Regions from separate parts of the Homo sapiens genome. Here region 2 is linked to region 1. The links are contacts of gene promoters, found by promoter capture Hi-C in human tissues and cell types (Jung and others, 2019). All regions are on one chromosome and are shown on one strand. Each heading gives the region's core, a stretch centred on a gene start or on the middle of the fragment in contact. The rest is flanking DNA. Distances are from core to core; before and after follow the strand shown. Region 1 holds the start of IL36A (interleukin 36 alpha). Region 2 overlaps IL36RN (interleukin 36 receptor antagonist).

The links. Contacts are between HindIII fragments. The study calls those that stand out against the background at their distance.
Region 2: a contact is called between a fragment that was not itself captured here and the fragment with the promoter of IL36A in region 1, in 1 of the 25 tissues and cell types used here (aorta).

What each region holds. Positions count from the first base shown.
Region 1 is chr2:113,003,402-113,007,496 of GRCh38, reverse strand. It overlaps IL36A (interleukin 36 alpha), which reads right to left and starts at 2,038. Exons shown (of 4, transcript NM_014440.3): 1 at 1,616-2,038; 2 at 1,410-1,523; 3 at 760-899. The coding sequence starts at 1,625. The HindIII fragment of the contact is 9,440 bases long and covers 1-4,095 here.
Region 2 is chr2:113,061,289-113,065,383 of GRCh38, reverse strand. IL36RN (interleukin 36 receptor antagonist) reads right to left here. Exons shown (of 5, transcript NM_012275.3): 4 at 3,133-3,260; 5 at 640-2,931. The coding sequence ends at 2,707. Among named protein-coding and RNA genes, the nearest start is that of IL36RN, 4.1 kb to the right of the region's middle. The HindIII fragment of the contact is 6,121 bases long and covers 1-4,095 here.

The DNA.
Region 1 (4,095 bases), core at 789-3,288:
TTTCAAATTAAAACAGTTATTTTCTGTCAGGTTTCTGCACCTTCAGCACTATTGACATTTTAGGCAAGATGATTCTTTGTTTTCAGGGTCTGTCCTGTATAATAATATAGGATGTTTAGTAGCATCCCTGTCATCTACCCGATAAATGCAAGTATCACACCCCCATCCCAGGTTGTCACAACCAAAACATCTCCAGACATTGACAAATGTCCCTGGAGCAATATCACCCCTGGCTGAAAAACACTGTTTTATATCTTGTCATCAAGTTGAGTGTCTGCTTATGCTTGTTTACTGAAAAGGGTCAAGAGAGTTCCTGTAGTACACAGAGGCCTGCTATAATTATCTTTTTTTAATAATGGAAAATTGCGATTATTGAAGTGTTTATTACAGAGAATTATGTTTGTTCATTTAAAGTTGCAATGTATTTTTTGCCAAAAAGATGTTTTAATAAGTTCGTCTACTTTGTGATAATTAACTGCTAAAATGTCCTTGCTGATTTTACTCTGTGTGTGTGTTCTATTGAAGTTAGACATCATCCTTGCCAAATTATTAATATTTTTGTAAATTAAAATAATAAGTCATTTTAGTAGGTTTGTTTCAAAATGTCCCTGCAATTTTTCTTAGTCTTTCATAACATATACCAACCCCAAGGAAACCAAAAATAAAAATGCATGAGCATAATAAGTACATTGTCTTTTAAAAGATCCTGAAATCTGAGTTTCCATCAAATAAATGGCAGGACCTGTCTTCCACACTCACCTTCAGCTGCAGTGTGGGCTGGTCCCCGACTTTAGCACACATCAGGCAGAGATTGAGTCCATTCAGGCCCAGGTAGATGGGGTTCCCTCTGTCTTTCTCAAGGGTCTCCACATGTCGGCATGAGATTAAGGCAATAGTGACTGGGAACACGATGTGAAAAGTGGTGTTCAGCTGCCATTTCCAGGGTGGTACCTCTGAGCCAGAGTTTTAAGGGAATCTGCTAACTGACACTCACAGTGCACTCATAGAATGGTCACCTCACCACCCACCACCTAACCGGGACACCCATCCTATGTTTGGGGAACACTTTCCATTAGAAAAGTCAGTCTTTCATGGATTCAAAAACTGGTCCTCCCATAGATTACCCTCTTTTGTCCTACTCTTACTCCTTGAAGTTTCTCAGAATACGTCTTCCACTGTTTTTCATAGGCTGACCCTTCAGTCTCCCTTAAGCCTTCTCTCTCTTCTCTGACTTCATGACCATAGTCCCAGAACAACCTTATGCTCACCCTCTATTCATTATTGTCTGTGAGATGCTCCTCTCTGTAGATATGCCCGGTTAACAAGCCCACTGTGGAATAACATCTGAGCACCAAACACACAACAGCACTGGCCAAAGGAGCTGCCTTTCACAGACCGTGGCTACTCACCTGGAGACATACGGTCCTTCCTCGGGACTGCTATGAGCGTCTGGTCCTGAAGAACCCACACCCGATGATTGATATCCTGAATGCTCCCCTGCTGAGGTGTGTCAATTTTCAATGCTGTTGAGAAAGTCAAAATGTAAATTAGTAAGAATGAGAGCACAGAATATCACCCCCTTGTCAATTTTTCGCCCTTCCACGAGGATCTTTACCTTTTTCCATTGTGGTGGTGTTGTTTCAGAACTGCCAAGGATAGGAGTCCTTTTATGTGCAGACCGACCCCAAGAGAGGACCTGAGTCAGTCCCAAGCCACAGTTTAACCCTGGGTCAGATGAAAGACTGGCGGCCAGCCCAGCAGTGACCCCAGTCAGAATCTATACTCCCAGAACTCACCCAGCACCCTTACTTTGTTGGATGCAGTCTACCTCCAGCAGAAGCAGCTGCACCTATGAATCCTGCCCAGGCCTAGACCCAGGAACTCTAATATGACAAAGAGTGCCAAGGCCAAAGACCTGGAAGCAAAAAAAATCAGAGGTCACCAGACTTTCCAGCATAGGCCACACTGATAATCTGTTACGAAGGACCCTGTATCCCTACCATTATGAACAATGGCTTCTACTGCACTTGGGTTTTCTGACAGGCTGTAACAGGGCCCAGGCCTTTTATCCACATGGGCAAGGAAGGAAGTTCTGCCTCACTAAGTCTGGCACTGCCCAACACTCAGGATATTTTCTAGTTCCTGATGCCAGAGGATTTAGTGACTCTTTATGTGAACAGCATGGTTAAGACTTCTCCAAGCAACCTGAAACATGAGGGCATGCTAAACTTTTAAGAGCAGGAAATATAGTCACAGATACTGAGTTGAGAAACATTACGGGACTTCTTCCGGGTCAATGACTCATCTCTGATGCCACAAAATGAAACGATGGAATTATTCCTAAGAGTGGGAGCCCTCAGTAAGTGCAAGGTAGACTGAGGAGGGATAGGTCTCTTAAGACCTCTGTAGCTTCTAATCACTCCTGGTCCACAGGAACTATATTCTTGGTCAATTTCAGACCAGAAGCCCACTCACTCCAGTGACCCTCCTCCAGCTTCTCAGAGCCACTGTGCATGCTGCTTCTCCATGGAAGAAGGGAGTATTACTGTAGCAAAGCCAGCTCCTGAGCACTCTAGCCACCTCAATGGACTCTAGATCACTATCTCTAGTATAGGTAGCGTGATAGTAAATTTTAAGTGTCAATTTGACTGGTTTAAGGAATACTTAAAGAACTGGTAATACATTAGTTTGGGGTAAGTCTATGAGGGTGTTTCCAAAGAAGATTGGTGTGTAAGTCAGTGTACTAGTGGGGAACATCTACCCTCAACGTAGGTGGGATCCATCCAACTGGCCGGGGGCATGGATGGCATGGAAAAGACAGAGAAAAGGTGATTTTCTGTCTCTCCTGGAGCTGGGGCATTCTCTCCTGCCTTTGGACATTATAACTCCAGACTTTGGACTCCAGGACTTAATATCAGCATCTCCCTGGGTTCTCAGGCTTTCTATCCCAAAGTGAGAATTACACCAGTGGCTTCCTAGTTCTGAGGCTTTAGGACTTGAACTGAGCATGTTACCTGCATCCCAGGGTCTCCAGCTTGCAGGTGGTCTGTCATGGGATTTCTCAGCCTCCAAAATTGCATGAGTTCATTCCCCTAATAAATCCCCTTTCATACAAGAGGTCATCAAAAAGTTCATGGAAAATGCATATTATGAAAAAAACTATGCATGGATTTTGAATTATTTTGCACCAAAATAAACTCCTACTAACTTGTTATAAGGTGTTTGAACAGGATCTAGTTTGAGGCACTAAGAAAGGTAAGACATCAGTTTGAAAAGAGCCCCTATAAGATCAACATGAATTCTTCTAAAATTGAAGCAAGAACAAAAATCAAATTTATGGTGAAACTTGGGTGGAAGAATGGTGAAATCATTGATGGCTTATAAAAAGTTTGTGGGGACAATGACCCAAAGAAATCAGCAGTTTACAATGGATAACTCATTTTAAGAAGTGAGACAATATTGAAAATAGCACCTGCAGCAGCAGACCATCCACATCACTTTGCAAGGAAAAAACTAATCTTTTTGTGCCCTAGTTGAAGAGGACTGAATATTAACAGCAGAAATGATAGCCAATATCATAGACATCTTAATTGGTTCAGCTTACACAATTATGACTAAAAAACTTAAAGTTGAAGCACAATGGCTCATGTCTGTAATCCCAGAACTTTGGGAGGCCGAGGCAGGCAGATCACCTGAGGTCAGGAGTTCAAGACCAGCCTGGCCAACACAGCAAAACCCTGTCTCTACACAAGTTTGTCAGTTGACCCTGCAGAACCCACTTATACAAAAAGTCAGCCCTCTTCATCCACAGGCTCAGCATCCCTCAATGCTGGTTGGTTGAACCTGCAGATACAAAGTGCCGATTCTGTATGTGTGTCTGTGTTTGTGTGCATAAACACACATCCTAATGATTCTATCTCTCTGGAGGCTCCTGACTAATACAGCAGGAAAGGAAGCCTGGCTGCCAGAGGCCCCAGTGCTCTGAGCTCGCAGTACCTGACATTAGGTCTACACTAAAAGGAAGCTGAGGTAATACTGTTGATGCTCTGCTCCATACCTTCAACAACCTGAGTTCACAACTGCTGTTGGAGATCC
Region 2 (4,095 bases), core at 981-3,480, 58 kb before region 1:
CTGGGGGTGTCTCAACTCAGTAAAAGCTTCTTGGAGGAGGTGACATCTTAGCAGGGTATTGAAAGATGAGAGATTTATCTAGGCAGAGAGGATGGATGGAGGACCCAAAAGCAGAGGGAGCAGCACAAGACTGTGTCTGGGCCCATGGACAAAGAGAGTGTGAACAGGGTCTGAAACACAGCCTAGCATCCGGAGCTCATGTTCTTGGCAGCCCTGAGAGGCCTGGGGTAGGAGCTGTGCTGCCTGTTGCCTGAGGACTTCAGCTGAATCTGGGCTGGAGCTGTGAGGTCCATAGAGGCAGCCTTGTCTGTCCTGGCCACCTCCTTGCCAGTGCCTCAGTGGACTCTCAACCACCAAGCTGGTCCAACAGGTGAAGTGCAGGTGGAATACCTGGGGCTCAGATATGGGCTCCTCCTCTGGCTTCTGCTCCCATTCCCCAGGGTTTGGGTGGGGACACTGGAGTTCATTCCTGGCACATAGGACAAGAGGATCTCAATCTTGCAGAACCAGATGACTCAACAAATGCTGTATTATTAGCTTTTAAATAGAATATTTGGGTAAATGAAGGATAGTTGTTCATTGTGAGAAAGAAAATAAAAAATATTGGAGAAAATTGCAATAATAAAACAAATGCATTTGTTTCTCTTTCTCTGCATATTATTTATCTATTGCTGCATAACAAGTTAGACCAAAACTGAGCAACTTAAAACAACAAACATCGATTATCTCACAGAGTCTCTGCTTCTAGGTTCACTAATGTGGCTGTGGGCAGGAGACTTCATTTTTTACCACGTAAGTCTCTTTATAGGCCTGCTCATAGCATGGCAGCTAGCTTCCCCCAGAGCGAGTGAGCCAAGATAGATTGGGGGCGGTGGGTGGCAGAGAGAGAGGGCTCAAGTAGAAGCTGCAGTGTCTTTTATAACCTAATCTTGGAAGTGGCATGCCATCACTTCTGCCATATTCTATTGGTCACAAAGACAACTTTGGTACATTGTGGGAGGGGACACACACAGAATGTAAACACGAGGAGACAGGGATCATTTTAGCAGCTGTATTAGTTTCCTAGAGCTGCTGTAACCAATTATCCTTGGTGGCTTAAAACAGCCGAAATTTATTCTTTCTTCGTTCAGGAGGCTGGAAGTCTGAGATTAAGGTTTCAGCAGAGCCGTTATCCCTCTAAAGCCTCTAGGGAAGAATTCTTCTTTGCCTCTTCCAAGCTTCTGATGGTTGCCACAATCCTTGGTGTTTCTTAGCTTGTGGCTGCAAAACTCCGATCTCTGCCTTCATCTTTACATAGTCTTCCCCGCATCTCCTCTGTCTCTGTGTCCTCTCCTTTTCATACAAGGAAACCAGTCATATTGAATTTAGGTCTACCTTCATCCAGCATGACCTTGTCTTAACTAACTACATCTGCAGAGACCTTATCTCCAAATAAACTCACAGACTGAGATTCCAAGAAGGATGTGAATTTGAGGGGGACACAATTCAACCAGTACAGCAGCCTTCTTAGAGACTGGATCCAATGCCTTGGAATCCCAGGGGCTGTGATCCTTCTAGGAAAGAATTACCAGATGATTTTTGTTCTTTAAGTTCCTTACCCAGAGATTCCAGCCACACAAACTCAGCACAGCCTCCTCCTCAGTGGCTTTGCTGAGATCTGTTTCCTGATCACTACTACAACCAACCAGAGCAGCAGAGCTCGATTCAATTTGAATTTACTCTGGGGAAGTGGAGGCTGAGGACAATCAGAGATGATGTCTACTCTGCTTACCTCAAGATTAATTTCTTTTCTTATTTTTATACAAGGAATTCATCTTCATTGTAGAAAAATTAGGAAATACAGGTAAATTAACAGAATTAAAAGAAAAATCACCTATACTGCCACCACCCTGACATTGCTACAATTGAAGTAAACTCTTCCAGACTTTTTTCTATAAAGAAATATATAAATAGGTATCTTTTAATTAAAATAAATTGCAATATATGCCACTTTGTAAGTAGGTCTTCTCAATATGTCATGAGCACTTTTTCATGGGAATAGAGACCAGCATCTGGGATTTTGATTGTATCTTGGGTTTTTAAAAGAGGATCAGCATACCCTACTTATCTTTTATCTTCTGAGCTCGAGCCATTTCTTCTGACATCAGCACCTCCTCATGCCCACAACAAGATGATGAGGGAAGAGATAGGAAAGGTAGCATATGACAGTGGCAGGATTAAAGGGAAGGAGGTGGGGCTGGGCCAAGGGCCATAGATCCCTGACTCTATGACCACCTCCCTCTCCTGCATAGTGGTGAGTGACAGGTCTTCATGTGGAGAGCTACTGACCCTATAAGGCTCAACTGGGGATGGGTTGGCCTGCGGGGCTCAGGGTAACACTGGTCAGTTACCATTAAGCAGGAATGATTCCCACCACTCCCCCACCCCACCTCCACAGAAATCTTTTCATGTTATTCCCAGTTTACCCCACATGGTTTTTACAAGATTCCACAGCAGTAGCACCATCCAGTGGGGGAGGACCGTGGACTGAGCTCCAAATCTCAGAATTTATCCAAACTGGGAACCAGAAGACAAAGTGGTCAGGTGCCCACTAAGTCAGACGTGGGGGTCCTGAGAGCAGAGAGAGTGATTGTCCGCCATGGGTCTCCTCCACTCACCCCTCACCCGAGCTGGCTCTGCCCAGGGAGTTCTGGGGGGCACGTTGCCCTAGTCACACTGCTGGAAGTAGAAGTCTGTGATGGGGGCATTCCAGCCACCATTCTCGGGAAGCTGGGTGAGTCTGACAGGCTGATCGGCTTCAGGCACCGTGCACAGGAACCAGCCCGGGTAGGCAGCCGACTCGAAGCTGGAGGTGAGCCCCATGTCCCGCCGGTAGAAGGTGAAGCTCTTGGATTCCTTGGCACCAAGATAGAGCTCCATGATGTTCACTGGCTGCCGGCAGAGGAGGGGAGGTCAGGTGAGGGCAGAAGCAGGGGCAGAGGGAGGGCTGGGCAGGATCCTTAGGGAGGAGGCAAAGCTGCCATCAACAGAATCCTGCTAGGGTGTCCCACAGCACCAGGGCTGTGGGCTGCCCGGCTTCAGTAGGCTCAGCATCTGTGGCTGAGTCCCCAGTGAGGATGCCCCAAGTCTCACCTCTAGTGTTAGAGTCGGCTCCTGCCCCACCCCACATGACAGGCACTGGCTTCCACCCTGGACACCCAGGATGACGGGGGACAGGCTGGCATCCAGCCACCGATTGGGGACCACGCTGATCTCTTCACCTGTGGGAAAGAGGCCAGATGCAGGGCCCTGGATGCCTTTCCCTCCTTCTTCCCCTGTCCTGGGCTCTAGGGCACAGGACTGCTGTAAGACGGCCTGCCCCCAGGCTGGGCAGAAGGGAGGCTTCTCAGCAGCTGTCATGACATGGCTTCTCCTGTCCACTGGCTCAGAGTGGACATCAAGGCATGGAAGCACATTGTACCACCTCCACTCCACCCTCTAGTTCAGGGTCAAATCTTCAAGCCTCTACACCCCAAAATAGATTCAACCCCCTCCTTTAATGTCCCTTGGGTCTCAGGCCTTTTTCTGAACCCTGTCTTGATAAGCCCCCCTTTGGAATTGTTTGGACAACTTTCTACACCCTGTGATGTTGCTGAGAGCAAAAGAGGGTCTCATTCCTCTCTGTACATCCCCTCACCACCCACATACATCAGATACATACATACACAGATACATGCATGCACACATATACATATACACACACATGCTCATACCTACATACCTGCACTCACACATACATGGTTACACACAGATACATGCATGCACACATGCTCACACATATATGCCTGCATGCACACATACATACACCAGTAAGCACACACATACACATATGGCCTAGCTGAAGGATCTACCTGGCATCTGTGCTCAGCAAGGGTGCCCCAGGTGGGCAGGTGCAAACTATTTTAGAGAGGGACGTGTTGCAGTGCATGGGGCAGAGTGAGCAAGCAGGAGGTCCAACAATGCCACCTGTTCTCTGGGTCCCTCCACTCTAAGTGACTGAGGATCTTCAGAGAGCAGAGGGGACCCAGGGTGGAGAGGCAGAAACCCACTCCCATA